3 separate regions of the Homo sapiens genome follow, and all the other regions are linked to region 2. Evidence: promoter capture Hi-C in human tissues and cell types (Jung and others, 2019). All regions are on one chromosome and are shown on one strand. The core of a region is centred on a gene start or on the middle of the fragment in contact, and the rest is flanking DNA. Distances in the headings are between cores, read along the strand shown.

What was found. Contacts are between HindIII fragments. The study calls those that stand out against the background at their distance.
Region 1: a fragment that was not itself captured here is called in contact with the fragment with the promoter of NPTXR in region 2 in 1 of the 25 tissues and cell types used here (spleen).
Region 3: a fragment that was not itself captured here is called in contact with the fragment with the promoter of NPTXR in region 2 in 3 of the 25 tissues and cell types used here (dorsolateral prefrontal cortex, hippocampus and psoas muscle).

The regions. Positions count from the first base shown.
Region 1 is chr22:38,093,594-38,097,074 of GRCh38, forward strand. It overlaps BAIAP2L2 (BAR/IMD domain containing adaptor protein 2 like 2), which reads right to left. Exons shown (of 14, transcript NM_025045.6): 7 at 3,439-3,481. Among named protein-coding and RNA genes, the nearest start is that of SLC16A8, 11 kb to the left of the region's middle. The HindIII fragment of the contact is 3,515 bases long and covers 304-3,481 here.
Region 2 is chr22:38,842,316-38,845,788 of GRCh38, forward strand. It overlaps NPTXR (neuronal pentraxin receptor), which reads right to left and starts at 1,713. Exons shown (of 5, transcript NM_014293.4): 1 at 920-1,713. The coding sequence starts at 1,543. RefSeq lists a silencer at 1,232-1,301. The HindIII fragment of the contact is 15,093 bases long and covers 1-3,473 here.
Region 3 is chr22:39,404,095-39,407,472 of GRCh38, forward strand. All of the region lies in intron 1 of TAB1 (TGF-beta activated kinase 1 (MAP3K7) binding protein 1), which reads left to right. Among named protein-coding and RNA genes, the nearest start is that of TAB1, 6.0 kb to the left of the region's middle. The HindIII fragment of the contact is 6,290 bases long and covers 1-3,378 here.

The DNA.
Region 1 (3,481 bases), core at 811-3,310, 750 kb before region 2:
GAAGCACAGGAAAACATGTTTAACATCACTAGCCATCTGGGAACCGGAAATCAATATTGCAATCAGATATCGCTTCACACCTGCTAGGATGGCTATTATCAAAAAGACAGTAACAAATAGTAGCGAGGACGTGAAACAACTGGAACCCTCATAAACTGCTGATGGACACGGAAACACTCCGGAAAACGGTCTGGAAGTTCCACAAACAGTTAAACATAGAGTTACCATATGGCCCCACAATTCTACTCTTATATACCCAAGAGAGATGAAAACATATGTCCACATGAAGACTCGTACATGGATGCTCAGCGCAGCAGTGGTCATGACAGCCAAAGAGTGGAAACAACCAGGCGTCCATCAGCTAACATCTGAGTAAATACATCGAGTAAACGAGTAAATACAATGTGGTGTATCCAAGCAATGGAATATTATCCAGCAGTGAAAAGGAAGCCAGTCGCAAAAGAGCACACACATTGTATGATTCTGTTTATATGAAATGTCCAGAATGGGCAAATGTATTGAGACAGAAAGTAGATTCCTGGTGGCCTGGGGCTGGGGGAGTGGGAGGATTGGGAATGACAGCTAAGGGGTACCGGTTTGTATTTTTTTTTTGAGACGGAATTTCGCTCTTGTCCAGGCCGGAGTGCAGTGGTGCAATCTTGGCTCACTGCAACCTCCACCTCCTGGGTTCAAGCAGTTCTCCTGTCTCAGCCTCCTGTGTAGCTGGGATTACAGGCATGTACAACCACGCTTGGCTAACTTTTGTATTTTTAGTAGAGACGGGTTTTCACCATGTTGGCCAGGGTGGCCTCGAACTCCTGTCCTCAGGTGATCCACCCGCCTCGGCCTCCCACAGTGCTGGGATTACAGGTGTGAGCCACCGCGCCTGGCCGAGGTACTGGGTTACTGTGGTGGAGGGTATTGAAAATATTTTAAGCTTGATAGTGGTGATGGATGCATGACTCTGTGAATATACTACAAACCAGAAAGTGTACACTGTAAATGGGTGAATCGTATGTGAATTATATCTCAATAAAACTGTTTTTCAAAAAAGGAAGTTGTTTCTCCCTGGCAGACCTTTTGTGGGATAGCAGGGGACGAGAAGGCTGAGCCTGGGGCCGGGTGAGGCGGTGACAGTGGGCAGATGAGAGCCTGAGCCGAAATCTGGGTCTTTGGATCCAGTCATGTATCCCTGGGCCCGTGGGTTCAGATCCAGAGACTCGGGGAGGGCGTGGGAGGCGTGGGAGGCGTGGGAGGGATAAGAACCCCAAGCCAGGACCGGGCGTGGTGGCTCATGCCTGTAATGCCAGCACTTTGGGAGGCCGAGGCAGGTGGATCACCTGAGGTCAGGAGTTCGAGACCACCCTGGCCAACATGGTGAAACCCTGTCTCTACTAAAAATACAAAAATTAGCTGGGCATGGTGGCGCACACCTGTAATCCCAGCACTTGGGAGGCTGAGGCAGGAGAATCACTTGAACCTGGGAGGTGGAGGTTGCAGGGAGCTGAGATTGCGCCACTGCACTCCAGCCTGGGCAACAGAGCAAGACTCCGTCTCAAAATAAATAAATACATACACACATAAATAAAATCAGTTTATCAAAATACAAGGGTCATGCTGCAGAGATGACTAGTGAGGTCTGAAACTAAGTCCTAAACTATCTTGGCAAAACCAGGAAGTGGAGGATGGGAAGGATGAAGACAGGAGTAAAAGCTTTCCAAAGGCCCCACCTCAGAATAGTTGGAGGGCAGGAAAATACTTCTTAAGGTATTATCTCATCTTTTTTTTTGAGACTTAGTCTCACTCTGTCGCCCAGACTGGAGTGCAGTGGCTTGATTTTGGCTCACTACAACTTCTGCCTCCCAGGTTCAAGCAATGCTCCTGCCTCAGCCTCCTGAGTAGCTGGGATTACAAGTGCCTGCCACCACGCCCAGCTAATTTTTGTATTTTTAGTAGAAACGGGGTTTCGCCATGTTGGCCAGGCTGGTCTCGAACTCCTGACCTCAAGCGATCCACCCACCTCGCGCTCCCAAAGTGTTGGGGTTACTGGTGTGAGCCACCGCGCCCAGCCTAATTTTTGTGGAAAGCTTTAAATCAAGGTCTCATCTTATGAATTGGCGGAGCGATGGACTGAACAGTGTGTGTCTGTAGTAGGGTGAAGTTGGCATTTTTGGAAAATAGGTGGATATATATGTGATTATGAAAGTCACAAAGTGAGGTCACCACAGGTAGAGAGAAAAAAATAGTGCAATTTCTAAATTAATAAAGGGAAAAGGGGAATGTATAGTATAATAACTCAACCAAACTGACAAGAAATAGTGTGGGAGAAAAAGAGGAAATGACAAAGTAAATACAGTTAGCTCAAGTTATCTAAAAGGAATAAAACCCAGGTATCTTCATTATTATGTTAAATGGGAATGGGCTGAATTCCTTTTCTATTAGAAGACACAGACTGTAAGACTGGTCAAAAACTCAAAAGTCAGTAACAGAAAGTATACTTAACATACAAAGAGATAAGCAAAGAGAAGAGAAAATAGAGCAGTATTAATATCAGACAAGGCGGAATTAAAAGCATCAAACTTAAGAGAGACATTAAGTACATAAATGGCAATATTTACAAAGAAGGTAGAATAGTTATAGCCAAAAAACGCCAAACAACATGGCAGCTCAATTCAGAAAGTGAAATCTATTAGAAATCCAATGAGAGATGAGAGAGTCTGACTAGTCTAGCAGACAGAACAATGCAAGAGCATAGAGGATTTAAATAATATGATAAAATGGCTGGGTATGGTAGCTCATGCCTGTAATCGCAGCACTTTGGGAGGCCGAAGCAGGCAGATCGCTTGAGGTCAGGAGTTTGAGATCAGCCTGGCCAACATGGCGAAACCCCGTCTCTACTAAAAATACAAAAATTAGCCGGGCGTGATAGCACATGCCTGTAGTCCCAGCTACTCGGGAGGCTGAGGCAGGAGAATCGCTTGAACCCGGGAGGGAGAGGTTGCAGTGAGCCGAGATTGTGCCGTTGCACTCCAGCCTGGGCAACAAGAGTGAAACTCTGTCTCAAAAAATAAATAAATAAATAATATGATAAAATTAATAGACGATAACTGAGCACACCTATCAATGAATTTGTGAATTGTGAGAATATACAAACAGGAATTAAAAAATGGTCCACACATGAATAAATAAATGCATGAATTCGTGAATGCATTAAAAACAAACAATATCACGAGTGAATAAATGAGTGAATATACAGTGATACAAGCAAACCCAGAAACAAAGGAAGAAATGGATGGAGATAGCAAAATAAAATGAATTTCTACAGACAGGCAGGCAGGGAGGGAAGAGGGAAGAAGGGAGGGAAACCTCTATGTACGGCCACTCAGGAGGGGGCAGCTCCTAGAAGCGCCCCGCTTGCTGCCCCCCAGTCCAACTCACCCGGCCGAAGAACTGCAGGAAGGTGTTGGAAAGTAGCAGGTGC
Region 2 (3,473 bases), core at 463-2,962:
TCTGGAAGTCAGGCCATGGCTGGGGTAGTGAATGTGTCCCGGATGTTTGTCCTGCCCAGTCTGTCTGCCTTGCACTTCTGGGAGCCCCAAATTCATTCTTACAGGGAGGAAGGTGGCCATGGGACTCCAGGGGGGAAATGACTGGCCCAGGGTCACATGAGAGCCAAGAGTGGGTTCCCCCATGCTGGACCCCTTGTGTCTGACCCCAAGCCTGAGTCAGGAAAGCCTGGAAAAGTGAGTGGAGGAGGAGGAGCTCGGGGGGCCCTGTTCTCCATTCAGCCCCCACCCAAGAGCTGTGGGCTTCCAGGTGTGTGAGGCTGGGCGCCTGGCACCTGAGCTCCTGCGGTTTGGGTCATAGTCTGAGCCAGAGTGGGAGATTCAGGGTAGGGAGGTGGTGAGGGGCACCCAGGTTTGTCTTATAGGGCACTCTGTTCCCGGCTCTGTGTAATGAGGGGAGGACCCCAAGTCCTTTGGACAGCGCATCCATCTCCTGGCCATAAAGTGTGAGCGTGGAGCTGGGCTGATTTGGGGGTGTCCGGAAGAAGGAAATGAAAGGGACATTTAATGAGGTCCTAGTACGTGCCAAGCATTTTCACACACCTACATTTGATTCAATTTCCACTACAAGTGGACACTGTTATACCTATTTTACAGACACAGAAACTGAGGCTCAGAGAGGTGCCTGGAGACGGAAAAGGGTGGGGAGCGAATCTTTCTGGCGCGCCCTCTGTGCCTCAGTCACCGTGCCAGACGCCTGCCCGCGTTCCCTATCGAAATCCCCCCGCCTCGCCAGCGAGGAAGGCGCGATCGTCCCCGGAACACAGACGGGAGACCGGAGGCTCGGGGACCGCCGGACGACCGCGGCCGGGCGGCCCCTCACACCACCCGGGCGGCTCCCCCGACGGCGCGCGGCGCTCACCTCCAGGCGGTCGATGCGGTCCCGCAGGGCGCGCACGGCGTCCTCCAGCTCCAGAATGAGCGCAGGCGAGTCCCAGGGCCCGTCGGCCATGGTGTCGCGGCGGGGCCCGGCGCCCTGGAGGCCGCGCGGCAGGCCGCTCTCGCAGCGGCCCAGCTTGCCGGTGAGCTCACGGATGGTGTCCTGGTCGGCGCGGATGCGCGCCTCCTGCTGCAGCGCCGTCTGGCGCAGCTGCTCGGCCGTGCTCTGCAGCAGCAGCAGCTCTTCGCGCTCGCCCGGCGCAGCGCCCGCCGCGTCCCCCTGCTGGGCCCCCGACGGGCAGGCAGCAGCCAGCGGCGTGCACAGGAAGCGGCTGAACAGGGGCCCGGGCGGCAGCGGGTGCGCGCTGGCCGCGGGTGCCCCGGGCAGCGCGGGGGGCCCGGCTGAACCGCCCGCGCCGTGCAGCGCGCTCAGGCTCCGCTGCGGGCCCGGGGACGCGGCGGCGCCCGAGGCGACCGAAGCATTGTCGGCGCCGCCGGGCAGCGCCCGCGCCGGGCTGGCCGCCAGGGGCACGCTGGCGATGATGCAGATGACGGCACCGAGGAACGCCAGCATGCCCGCGGCCAGCAGCACGGCCAGGAACTTCAGCGTGAGGCGGGCGGCGGGGGCGCCCGAGGCCCCCGGCAGGCGCGGCGGCGGGGTCGGGGCGCGGAGCCCGGGCGCGCTGGGCCGAGCGGGGCAGGCGCGGGAGCCGGAGCCGGAGCCGGAGCCGGAGCCGGAGCTGGAGCTGTCGCCGCGGCCGCTGCTGCCGCCGCTCTGAGCCCGGGCGGCGGGAGGAGGAGAAGACGGCAGGCGGCGGGGAGGGGGAGCGGGCGCGGCGGCCCCGCCCCACTCGCTTCCCCGGGCCGGCCCTGGCCCCGGCCCAGCCCCGCACCCGTTCAGTGCCGGGCGCCCGGCTGGGGGCGCCGCCGGGGATGCGGCGAGGAGCGAGGGCAGCGCCTGGGACCTTATCTCGCCGCGGTCACAGCGCAGGGGCCGGCGACCCGAGGGCCGCGCGGCGGGGCTCCTGGGTGACCCCCATCCCAGCCCTCCCGTGCTCGGGCCCCCTCCCCAAGCCGGTTATGTTCACATCCACCCGGGAGGGAGCTTTCTTCCGGGTGGGGCTGTGCACTGGGCGCGCCACAAGCTCGGTCGCAATTGAGCCTTGCCGTGGACAGGCTCACAATAGAAATGAGGAAACTGAGACACCTGAGGTCAGGCCTCTGTCCAAGGTCACCGGGTGGCTGCGTTGGAGCCGCCTGCGAGCTTAGGCACGTTTCACCGGACCAGACTGTGGATGGGGCTGGAGTGGGAGCGGTTAGAGGTGGAGAAGAGGCCAGTGTTGGGGGTTGGGGGGAGGCTCGGATTTTGACCTAACTTCTGTTTATACTGTGGCCACCTGCCCGTCACCCCCACCTCCAACCTTCTGAAGGAGCAGAGTTCACTCCCCGCCACCCTCATTACAGAATCTTCCTGTGATCTCAGAGGATGATGGAAATTCTCTCCTCTGAATCCTTGGGGGCTTAGAGCCTCACAGGTCCAGAGAAACCCCCCACCCCCACTGCAGTCTGCCTTCGTTGGCAAGCGGTGCCACGTGCCTGGTGGGCATGTGGACCAGGCCCAGAAGGAACAGCAGGAATGGGAGTGGGCTGTGCTGTGGGGGTGGCAGAGGAGCGTTTTACTTTCTTCTGTCAAAAATGTCTATATATATTTTGTTGAAAATTAACTTTGCAATTAAAAACTTAAAAACAATCCTACTATCCTCCACACTTTATCCCCAGCTCCAATTTTCCATGAGGTCTTTCCTGACCAATACGGATTCCCAGGGCTGGAAGGGCCTTGGGAGGGCTGTGGTTATTCCCAGCTCTGTCTCCCTTCCAAGCCTGCATTTTTGACTTGAAGGGAAAGCGCAAACCAGGATCTCTGGACCACCACGGCTACCACTGTGGTTTCGAGTGTACTTCACATAGCGCTGGTGGTGGGGAGAGACCGGAATGTTTCCCAGGAAGCCACAACCCTGGGGGACGCTCTCCAGCCACGGGGATTTTGTCCAGTGTTCCCAGGCACACGTGCTCCACCTCCCTCTCTCCACACATGTTAGGATGATGTCCACCCTGTTCACCCATCTCTAGGAGCCAGGGATTTTCATCCATACCTGAGTTGTGAAAGAGGAGAGAAGCAAACACAAGCGCTGTATGCCAGGAACCTGAGTGCTGTGTGTGCGTGGATGTGTGCTGGTGCTCACTGAAGTCGTAACCTCAAAACCCAGGGCAGGCAGCTGGGCTTGGAGGAAGCATCTCATGGACAGAGAGATGGGCTGGGCTCTTGGAAGGCAAAGGCCAGCGGTAGGCCCTGCTAAAGTCCTGGGGATGCATGAGACATCGGGACTCCTGGTACATCTACACGTGTGCCGTGAAGACAGAAACACGGAGATAGCATCCCCAGGAGAAACTGTCATAGGAAGTCCAGGGAAGGACAGGAGATGCCAAGAGAGAGGGCTGCTGCCAAGAGCAGCAGAGCCACTGTGACTTGGGCACCA
Region 3 (3,378 bases), core at 864-3,363, 560 kb after region 2:
GAAGAGCTCATGTGATTTGCTGATGGATTGAATGTGAGGTGTGTGACAGAGGAAGAAGAGTCAAAAAGGACTCTTAAGGTTTTGGTTTAAACAACAGTGGTGCCATTTACGGGGTGAGGGAGCCCTGGAAGAGGGGCACCCTGGGGCAGGGGGAATCAAGAGTTTGATTTTGCCTGTACTGTTACTTAATTATAAAAAAGAAAATCAGGCTAGGCATGGTGGCTCATGCCTGGAATCCCAGCCCTTTGGGAGGCTGAGGCAGGAGGATCACTTGAGGCCAGGAGTTCCAGATCAGCTCGGGCAACATAGTGAGATTCAGTCTTTAAAAAAATTAGTGAGGCATGGTGGTATGTGCCTGTAGTACTTAGGAGACTTAATGGGGTGATTGCCTGAGCCCAGAAGTTTGAGGTTGTAGTGAGGCTATGATCCCCTCACTGCACTCCAGGCTGGGTGACACAGCAAGACCTGTTTAAAAAAAAAAAAAGAAAGTAAGCTTAAAATCAATTTTTTAAACTTCGACATGTCCTGAGCAATTATATCTGAGATCATAGGTGCTGCTATCTGTGTAATTTATCTAAAGGATGTTAAAATAAATACATAGCCACTAAAATAAAAAGGTCCATGGGGGTACCACCTATACCCATTGCATACACCCAGCTGCTGCCCTAGCACATTGGAAGTGCCAACAATGATTATTAGCCCCTTTAAGAATGAATGAGGAGCTCTTTAGGATGACGACATGGAGAACCTTCAATGAAAACTCCGGTGGGAGAAGTGGGGGCCAGGAGTGGAGCTGGTCTCAGAGAAGTGGGTCATCCGGAAGGTTGGAGGTGGTGGGGGCATTGGGGCCTTGGAAGCTTTTTGGAGAGAAAGGTCTGCTGCTCCCCTGCTCCGAGCCCTCTTCCTGGGGTTGTGAGTCTCCCTTTCTGAGCTTCCTTTTTGCTTCTAAGGAATGTGGGTGCTTTTACCACAAAAACACTTGGCCTTTTCATAGCATAATTTGGTATTCAAGCTGTGGCCTGAGCTTGGAACCATTCTTTGTCCATTTCTGCTGCCCAGGACTTTGAGATGAGTCTGTGTGGGTACTTTGTGAACTATTATGTGACATGGACACATATATACATGAGGAGTGAATGCTTACATCATGCACAGGGTGTTTGTAAAGGCCTTGTTGGGTTAAATACTGTTGGATCACTGTAGAAGCTTTTCATACCGAAACATTAATTTTGGAAACTCCTTCACAAAATCAAATCAAAATTAGGTCTTTTGAAACAGGCTTCTTAACGTATTCTTGTGAAATTTCTCATGAGCAGTTCATTTCTCAGACATGGAAGAGTTAAGTCCTGCGTTCGCTGTTGTGTGTGTTGCAGTGGCTCCGCGATGAGGCTGTGCTGAGTGAGAGACGCCCCCTTCTCAGCTTCTCGCAGACTCTTGCTCCCTGCGCTCCAGCGCCGCTCACGGCTGGTGCTGGCAGGCCTGGCATTTGGGGGCGTGGGAGAAAGTATGCATCAGTGTGTGCAGGGGTGGAGGGGTGGGTGGTTTGTGTGAATAGAAAGTACATGACCTTTCTGAAAATTGTTCAGAAATGTGGAGGAAGGAAGCGAGAGACTTGGCAGTCCTGTAGGCTTTAATGGAATCAGCAATGGACGCTCGGTATGGCTAATCCTCGATGGAGATGGAAAGGGACGGGAGAACACGATCCAAGCCTACTCAGCTGCAGCAGCGTGAGTCCGCTGGGGAACACGGAGAAGACCAGATACTCTCACTCCCACTTGGTAGAACCTCCTGAGGTTCTCCGGCCACTGTAGTGAACCAGTGTCTGGCGAGCGCCCGAATTACGTGAGAAACTGCCCATGTGTCATTGGATCTAAGACACCAATGTTTTAAGGACACGTCAGTGTTTTGTCTATTGCTCAGAAAGAGAACTCACAGCTAATTAACTTGTAACATACCAACTCCAGAGACGTTAACATGTGGAAAATGTAGGTCTTCAAATCAGTGAAATAAGGTAATCTAATTAACAATACCAGGCTATAGCACAATGGTTGCCACAGGGCCACTTTGGGAGGCCAAGGCGTGTGGATCACAAGGTCAGGAGTTCAAGACCAGCCTGGCCAAGATGGTGAAACCACGTCTCTACTAAAAATACAAAAAATTAGCCGGGCATGGTGGCACGCACCTGTAATCCCAGCTACTCCAGAGGCTGAGGCAGAGAATTGCTTAAACCTGGAGGGGCAGAGCTTGCAGTGAGCCAAGATCGCGCCACTGCACTCCAGCCTGGGCGACAGAGTGAGACTGTCACCAAAAAAAAAAAAAAAAAAAAAGGAATCATTTGAGTGAAAGATAGTTTCTTGAAGATGGTCAGTGGATGATTGAGGTTTGGGAATCATGGGCCTCTGGCCCTAGTTGGATTTGAGCAGTGCCTTTAGGGTAGATAGGACTTAAAAAGACAGAAAGGGACAGGCTTTGCCTTACCATGGGTACTTTTACATATGCTCTTTGGGTAATTTTTTTCTTACTCTTTCTTTATTTTTTTTTAATTTATTTTTTATTTTTGAGACGGAGTCTTGCTGTGTCGCCCAGGCTGGAGTGCAGTGGCGCCATCTCGGCTCACTGCAAGCTCTGCCTCCCGGGTTCACACCATTCTCCTGCCTCCGCCTCTGGAGTAGCTGGGACTACAGGCACCCACCACCACGCCCACCTAATTTTTTTGTATTTTTAGTAGAGACGGGGTTTCACCGTGTTAGCCAGGATGGTCTCAATCTCTTGACCTCATGATCTGCCCGCCTTGGCCTCCCAAAGTGCTGGGATTACAGGCGTGAGCCACTGCGCCCGGCCTCTGGTCACAGTTTTTTAGAGATTGTTTGGAACAGTGAGTAGAAGGCCTTGTCTGTACAAGATACACAGCTGAGTGAGATTGTTAATCTGTCAAAGGGCAAAATTCAAAACTTTCGACAGTCTGGAAGGCTGGGATGAATGCATTAAGATGTAATTCGACTGATATAAATTTAGATTTAAAACAACCTTCTATAGTAGTTTGGCTGGGGGAGACAGACATGGTAGAAACTCACAGGAAAAGGACTTTGTTATTTTACATTACATAGAGGCTAGATGCTCATCTTCTCTTGGGTATATGAAAGCTGTTGATTTGCATACTTTGATTTTCTATCCTGCCGCCTAACTGATTTCTTTTTCTGTTTGCATTAGTTTTTCATTGATTCTTTAGGGTTGCCAGGCGTACTGTCCTATCAACTGCAAATAGAAATGACTTCTTTCCCGGTTTTTATGCTCTCATTCTTTACTCTGTCTAACTGCCTGGGCTAACACCTCCAGTTCTGTGTGAAGTAATAGAGTGGGCAGCCTTGCTATGGCCCTGAT